Linked DNA regions of Homo sapiens: region 2 is linked to region 1. Evidence: promoter capture Hi-C in 16 types of primary human blood cells and fetal thymus (Javierre and others, 2016). All regions are on one chromosome and are shown on one strand. Each heading gives the region's core, a stretch centred on a gene start or on the middle of the fragment in contact. The rest is flanking DNA. Distances are from core to core; before and after follow the strand shown.

Region 1 (3,870 bases), core at 366-2,865:
AAAGCCAAATGTGAAAAATAAACCTAACAGGCGAATAAACTGGTATATCAACACCATGGAATACTAAGCAAAAAAAAAAAAAAAAAAAAAAAAAAAAAAAAAAAAGAATTATGGATATAAGCAACAATATGGGTAAATCTGAAAGTAGTGAAAGAACCAGACCAAAAAAATATATACTGTATGATTCTACTTACATCGAACTGTAGAAAACGCAAACTAATCTGTAGTAACAAATCGGTGGGCCAGGTACAGTGGCTCATGCCTGTAGTCCTAGCACTTTGGGAGGCCGAGGTGGGCGGATCATGAGGTCAGGAGATCGAGACCATCCTAGCTAATACAGTGAAACCCTGTCTGTCTGTACCAAAAATACAAAAATTTACCAGGCGTGATGGCACGTGCCTGCAGTCCCAGCTACGCGGGAGGCTGAGGCAGGAGAATCCCTTGAACCTGGGAGGCAGAGATTGCAGTGAGCTGAGATTGTGCCACTGCACTCCAGCCTGGCAAGAGCGAGACTCCATCTCAAAAAAAAAAAAAAAAAAAAAAAAAAAAATCAGTGGTTGCTCGGCAGGGTGAGGCTGGGAAGGAGGAGTGAGAAAGGGGTGGGAAGAACTGCTGGGGTAGAGAGACTTGGTTAACTGGACTGTGGCGATGGTTTTTCTCTTACGCTTCACATGTGTGCAGTTTATGTCCATCCTCCTTCAGTAACGCTGTTGAAGTTGGGCAGCCTCCCCATATTGAGACAAACGGCATTGAAGCCAGAAGCATCCTAGGACTCCCTTTGCTCTCTACACATCAGGGGTTAGGTTTTATATTTCTCACCAAAAAATTAGAGTAAGAGATATTCTTAATTTAGAAATGTACCAGAGAATATTTTAAAAATCACACTCGGCCGGGTGCTGTGGCTCATGCCTGTCATCCCAGCACTTTGGGAGGCAGGCAGATCATCTGAGGTCAGGAGTTCAAGACCAGCCTGGCCAACATGGTGAAAGCCTGTCTCTACTAAAAATACAAAAATTAGCCAGGTGTGATGGTGCGTGCCTGTAATCCCAGCAAATCGGGAGGCTGAGGCAGGAGAATCGCTTGAACCTGGGAGGTGGAAGTTGCACTGAACCAAGATAGTGCCACTGTACTCCAGCCTGGGCGACAGAGTGAGACTCAAAAAAAAAAATCACACTCCTGACTAAAAATTTCCAGGAGGTCCTTTTAGTTTTTTGTGTTTGTTTTTCACACACAGACCAACCAACTAAAAAGTGACTGGGGAAAAAAAGGAAACACCACACTATATCTTTTTGAAATGTAAGTATACAGATTTTAATTTATTTTTAAGAATAATTGTATATTTTAAAAACAGGACACGTACTGTATGAGTAAACAGCGTGGCTAACACCAAGTCCACACTGGTAAGCTTTTGAGAACCATTTACACTATGTTGACAGTAGTACTGCTGCAGGCAGACAGCGGAAGAATAAATAATAGTGCTTCAAGAAGAGTAGTGATTGAGAGGATAGGTAAAGAGGGCGCCTCATCGTGGAAGCTAGAGCAGGAACACCTCCCCAGTAGTGACATGTGCAAAGTTCCAGATCTCCACGACAAAGACAGCTCAACCCATTGGAACAAACAGACTCCCAATGTGGCTGGCAACTGCGGGGGTAGAAGAACTCAGGCAAAGTAGGCACAGGAATGGGGGAGATGAGAGCCAAGGGACAAACGCCGAGAAAGCGTTCCGACAAGCATGTGTGTTCATACATGCATACCCCCAACAAAGGGCAATGCACTGTGTAACAGAACTGAACACAATTTAACAAAGCTGCTCCCAGCCTTCCTGTCACCTCTTTGGCAGTAGGGCAGGCCATCTCAACTTCGGACACACAAAGACATTCTCTTCAGGAGGAAGGCTGTCCTGTGTGGTGGGGACAAGGCTTCAGGTAAGAGCAAAGCTATGATAGCTACAGCATTAATTGAACATGCCTAAACAAAAAAGATGTTAATTACTAGTTACAGGTATACATGCCAAAATTACCCCCAGGGATGGGCATAGTCAATCATTTTCCTACAGTGGTGAAATAAAACAAGCTTTGATCATGCTTCAGCAAGTAGAATTATGTGGTAGAGAAGTCAGGCCCCATATGCTAAAATTTGCACTTCTTGCCATAAACTTTTCATGTATATAAGTCAAAACCAAGTCTCCTAGGACCACTAAACCTATGATGGGCTTTCAACTGTAACACTCATTCACATCTTTAAGTTAGGCCCATGGTCATGGAACCTGGCCAAGGTTTCAAGCACGCCTAAGCTGAAGAAAAACTAAAGTCACCCCCATATAATTAGGTCCAGTCTAGGCACAGGAAGCCACAGCTGGTTGACTGATCAGGGCTTCTCAGGACTGGATGTTGGTTGAATTGAGGATTCCAGAAGTAGCATCAGATTTGGAAGCCTTTGAAAGTTCTCGCTGTTGAAAAATAAATAACATCAGTGGCCATACTGCCTCTCTTACACATGGCCCACCCTTCTAAGTTTGGTTAAGTGTCAGCAAAAGGTCCCTTGAAGGTAGTTTCTCTGAGATCCCTAGCCTGCAATAGGCTGCGTTAGGAGTAAAAGGTGAGGAACTCTGAGCACCATTCTATTAGTCACAGACAGAGTGCATGTGCACGCATGCCCGTGACCCCTTTTTCCTCAGCCAGTCCATTCTGTTACACCTCACAGAAGAGAAATCCTTCATACAGTCATGCACTGCATAATGATGTTTCAGTTAACGACAGGCCACATACACTATGGTGGTCCCATAAGATTATACCATATTTTTACTGTACCTTTTCTATGTTTAGATACACAAATACTTACCATTGCGTTACAATTGCCTACAGTATCCCAGGAATAGCCTGAATCAAAAAAACCCACAATTGCCTACAGTATTCTTTCTGTAACATGCTGCCCAGGTTTGTAGCCTAGGAGGAAAACGCCATACCATATAGTTTAGGTGTGTAGGCTGTTCTGTCTAGGACTGTTAAGTACACTCTGATATGTGCACAATGAAATTGCCCCACATTCTCAGAACATATCCCTGTCATTAAGCGAGGCATGACTCTACTTCACAGAGCTACTTTAGAGTTGTCAAGGTAAGTAGGCAACAAGCTTTGGTCTCTTGAGCCCTTTATAAAACAATGGGCCAGAACATATATCTACCAATCCCTGGGGCTGAGGCCTTGTAACCTGCTGGTGATTTGATCTCATGCTGGAGCACATGGTAGAGCAGCAAAAGATAAAGCATGAATGGCTATTGAGAAAGACAGATATTAGCAGAGGTTAGTTTACCGGCTTTGGTGCTGCCTGGTGGAGTCTATCAGCCATAGCAACCCAAACCAGACGAACCTACCTAGGACTAGCCACACAGATAGGCAGGTACATTTAAGCCTCAGATAAAATGGGCCTTGGTTGAACAAGCGAAAAAGAGAAAGCTGGACCTCTGTCCAGCAATCAGCCAGAGTGACACACACCCACTTTTAAAGGTAGAAGCACCACCAGCCACGTAATTTGAAAAACATGCTGGAGTAGGAAGCCAGTTTCAGTGATCAAAACTAGCTGCAGCCTTGGCCAACTGTTCCATTCTCTATCCCTGCAGCAATTAAGAGGGGAGGCAGGCTAGGGGTTTAACTCAATATCCCCTCAAGGGTGAGGAACATCCTCTCCTCTTGCTAGTAAAATATTGAGAGAAGAAATCACAGATTAAGTAAAAGGCAGTGTAGTTAGGTGTTAGCAAATATAGAGTAGGATACTAGGAAGTGAAGAGCATTCTGGAAAAACTTGCTTCCAGTGCTTCATCTATGCTTCAGTAGCTCAATGTATGGAAAGAGGCAAAGGTGAGGAAATCAG
Region 2 (3,870 bases), core at 531-3,030, 880 kb before region 1:
AGCTCACTACAGCCTCAAACTCCCGGGCTCAAGTGATCCTCCCACCTTGGCCTCCCAAAGTGCTGGGACTATAGGCATGAGCCACCACACCTGGCCAGGACTTTATAAAGATTATACAACTCTTCTCCAGGACATTTTAACACCAAAAAGAAGAAGCTTTGCAGAACTTACTATGCAGAGGACAGTCCTTTTGATTATATGTAGCTTTAGAGCAACTTTTATTTTTCCTTTTTACATGGGGCTAAAAAACTTGCATAGAGCAATTTTTTTTTTTTTTTTTTTTTTTTTTTTTTTGAGACAGAGTCTTGCTCTGTCACCCAGGCTGGAGTGCAGTGGTGCAGTCTCGGCTCACTGCAACCTCTGCCTCCCAGGTTCAAGCCATTTTCCTGCCTCAGCCTCCCGAGTAGCTGGGACTGCAGGTGCGCATCACCACGCCTGGCTAATTTTTGTATTTTGAGTAGAGATGGGGTTTCACCATGTTGGCCAGGCTGGTCTCGAACTCCTGGCCTCAAGTGATCCACCCACCTCAGCCTCCCAAAGTACAGGGATTATAGGCGTGCGCCACTGTGCCCGGCCGAGAACAATTTGTCACAAGCTTACTTTTCTAGTTTTGCCAATGCATGGTGAAAGTGAACCCAAGCCTGGGAACTGCAGGCCTAGACAATGCAGGGCCCTTGTTCACACACACCCAAGCCCCTCCAAACTCAGGCAGCCTTGGAAAGGAGAAGTGTGAGGCAGGTGTGGGTAGGACCTCTTTTTAGTACCTAGAAAAAGGCTAAGAAAGTGGCCTGGAGATGTTTAGAAGGTTAAAACCAACGAAGAAAAAAATCAATGACAACCTATCAGGAACTGATTGACTCTCAGAATGGAGAACTGGACACAGAAACTGGATCATGCTAGAAAATTCCAGGGAACCCACAGGCCTGTGCCCTGAGTGTCCGAGAACTCCGCAGTGGGCCCCTGTGGAATGCGGGCTCCCAGGGCTGCCTGGTCCCTTCCCTGCCGTGGCAGCCCCTTCCTGAGGTGCTCTGGTCTGCCCCAGGGGAACCTGCCAGCTCTAGCAGGGCCTCTGCCTCAGGGTCCCACTACCTCCTCCCCTCAGGGACAAACACAGCAGACAATTTTGTGAAGAGCTTTTTAGTAGCTAAATATGGCACCATGTGTTCCAAGGGCAATATAAATTACAGTATGCAAAACATACTGACTGGCTGAGGTAAAACGCACTGCTCCTGCCTCACGTCACCATGAGGGGAAACACACATATGCTTTTAAAAACATCTGGCTTATAAAAAAACATCCCCTAGAAAGGCCTCCAGAGAGGGGCTGTGAGGCTCACCCTCTGCCGCGCTCAGGAGGACCCGCCGGCTCAGCCCTGGCCCCTCCACTGCAGCCATGGGTGGCGCCTCCCCCTACTGCCTGCCCAGGGCTCTGTCCAGGTTGCTCTTGATGGTGTCGAGGAAGTCCGTGGTGTTCAGGAAGTGCTCGTTCAGCTTCACACTGCAGAGAGAGCACCACTCACATCAGGGGTGGCTCCAGGCCTTGCCAAGGCCATCAGCCAGGCCCTTCCAGGGAACAGCCTGAGCTTGGGCATCAGAACAGCCATCTCCTGCCACCCAGACTACAGGCCAGAGGCCAGCTATAGCCCCCTACCATGAGGCCACCGAGATTCGGCAGGCACCCGCAGGGTCTGTCTTGCCAGGTAACTGCTCTCCTGAGAGAAGCTGGGAAAGGGGTGTGGGCAGGGTCGGAAGGAGCTCTGAGTAGCCAGCCTCAGGGATGGGGAGGAACTCACTAGACCTGGTCTACAGAGGCTGGCCTGAGCAGTCTCTCAGGGCTGTGGACATGTCCTGCCCCAGGCCCCCTTGCAGCTAAGCTGACTCATGAGGGGGACTTTAGGAGGGGTCCCCTGGCTTCCTCCCACATGGCCCCAGGGTCTGCCTACCACCCCAGGCCACGCACTTGCTGAGGCCGTGAATGCAGCCCGCCAGGTCCTTGGTCATGGCTCCACTCTCCACCGTCTCCACGCACACCTTCTCCAGCATCTGGGCAAACCTATGGGGATGGGGCAGAATGAGACCCCATCTGTGCAAGGGCAGGACCCAGAGCCTGTCCTGGGCAGCTCCGGCCTCTCCCTCCATGCTCACCTGATGAGGTCTTGGTTCCCATCCAGCTTCCCCCGGTGCTCCAGGCCACGTGTCCAGGCAAAGATGCTGGCGATGGGGTTGGTGCTGGTGGGCCGGCCCTGGGGACGGGGGTTGCAGGGAGATCAAGAGCCGAGCCAGCTAGTGAGGAGGCTGCCCAGATACAGCTGCCCGCCCCTGGGCTGGTGGGTCAGGCTCGTCCTTCCAGCCCTCAGCCCAGTGGGCTTTAGGCCCCTGGGGTAGAGGGGCATTGTGAGGCCCCATGCCCTGCACTCACCTTCTGGTGCTCCCGATAGTGGCGGGTGACGGTCCCATGAGCGGCCTCAGCCTCAATCGTCTTCCCATCAGGGCAGACCAGGACGGACGTCATCAGGCCAAGGGAGCCAAAGCCTGGAGGGTAGAAAGCCTTTCTCTCAGGGCCTCGCCTCTCCTGGGGCCACCCAGCTGAGCCCTGCTGCCCTCTACAACCCAATATTGTAGCTGCCATAGTTCGTGGCTCTACTCAGCCTCCCCCAGCTGCAACTGGGAGGACAGGGACTGTTCCAGGTCTCTTCACCCTCCTGTGGGTCTCCAGGGCCCAGCACAGGGCTGGAGGGCACTGGAGGGTGGCTATCACCAGCACATTAACATCCATCTGTGTCACCAGCTCCAGGCGCCCCACAGCCTGTGGCCCACAGGGCCCAAGAGGCCACAGAGTCCTGTGGTCCCCCACAGCCTGCCACCCAGCCTGGCTCGTGACCCGGAGGCACATTCAAGGAAAACAATAAAGCTGTGGTCAGCTATTTCCCAACAATCACTTTTGCAGCTACTCTCTTAGGCCACTTTCAAGCTTTTTGATTAATTTCTGAATGCTCCCAAATCCACATGTCAACTCCAGCAAGCTTTTCTATTGTCAAGGACTCCAGGGCTTCAAAGGCACCCCCATGACACCAAAATAAGGATTGAAGAAAGAAAACATGGACAACATCTACAGGAAAATGCTTTGTCTATGAATTCTAAGAATTTTGGCTGTAAGCAATCCCTTCTCCATTTTACCTGCACCTTCACACCATTCCTTAGACACTTAAGGTTCATTTTCATGCCTCTGCCTCATCTGCTATGGCGTTTCATCCTTCTATCCTAGATGGGAATTGTTCGGTGAGAGGATCCCCACTGAACTTTCCAAAGTAAAGCCAAAGGTTTACACAAAGTAACAAGACTCTGCTTTTCATCAGAACCCGTCCTGGGCTTCCCTTTTCCCCATACCAGGAGCTGCCCTGGTAAGCTTAGGTTTCTCTTTCACTCTCTATGTCCTGCCTGTTTCCCACACCTACCACCTTTCCTGCTCTTGTTCCCAACACAATTGGCCCATTTCTCGCTGTTCTTCTCTAATGGTCTCACCTATACTTTATTTTTTATTTTTTATTTTTTTTGGAGACGGAGTTTCACCCTTGTTGCCCAGGCTGGAGTGCAATGGCGCAATCTCGGCTCACTGCAACCTCCACCTCCTGGGTTCAAGAGATTCTCCTGCCTCAGCCTCTCAAGTAGCTGGGATTACAGGTGTCCATGACTGTGCCCGCCTCCATGCCCAGCTAAATTTTTTTGCATTTTTAGTAGAGACGGGGTTTCGTCATGTTGGCCACGCTGGTCTCAAACTCCTGACCTCATCACCTATACTTTTTACTGCAATCTGATTTGTCTTTTAGGACACCCTAGGGCTTGGGGGTTTGCAGGCTTCCCCAACATTCTC

The links. Contacts are between HindIII fragments. The CHiCAGO score rates a contact against its expected background, and 5 or more counts as called.
Region 2: a fragment that was not itself captured here is called in contact with the fragment with the promoter of PRC1-AS1 in region 1 in 1 of 17 cell types (total B cells); the score reaches 5.1 in total B cells.

The regions. Positions count from the first base shown.
Region 1 is chr15:90,964,754-90,968,623 of GRCh38, forward strand. PRC1-AS1 (PRC1 antisense RNA 1) reads left to right here and starts at 1,616. Exons shown (of 4, transcript NR_051984.1): 1 at 1,616-1,925. PRC1 (protein regulator of cytokinesis 1) reads right to left here. Exons shown (of 15, transcript NM_003981.4): 15 at 1,287-2,449. The coding sequence ends at 2,378. The HindIII fragment of the contact is 668 bases long and covers 1,404-2,071 here.
Region 2 is chr15:90,082,857-90,086,726 of GRCh38, forward strand. It overlaps IDH2 (isocitrate dehydrogenase (NADP(+)) 2), which reads right to left. Exons shown (of 11, transcript NM_002168.4): 8 at 2,419-2,531; 9 at 2,145-2,242; 10 at 1,960-2,052; 11 at 189-1,497. The coding sequence ends at 1,410. Among named protein-coding and RNA genes, the nearest start is that of ZNF710-AS1, 2.6 kb to the left of the region's middle. RefSeq lists enhancers at 1,122-1,622, 1,623-2,123. The HindIII fragment of the contact is 2,375 bases long and covers 594-2,968 here.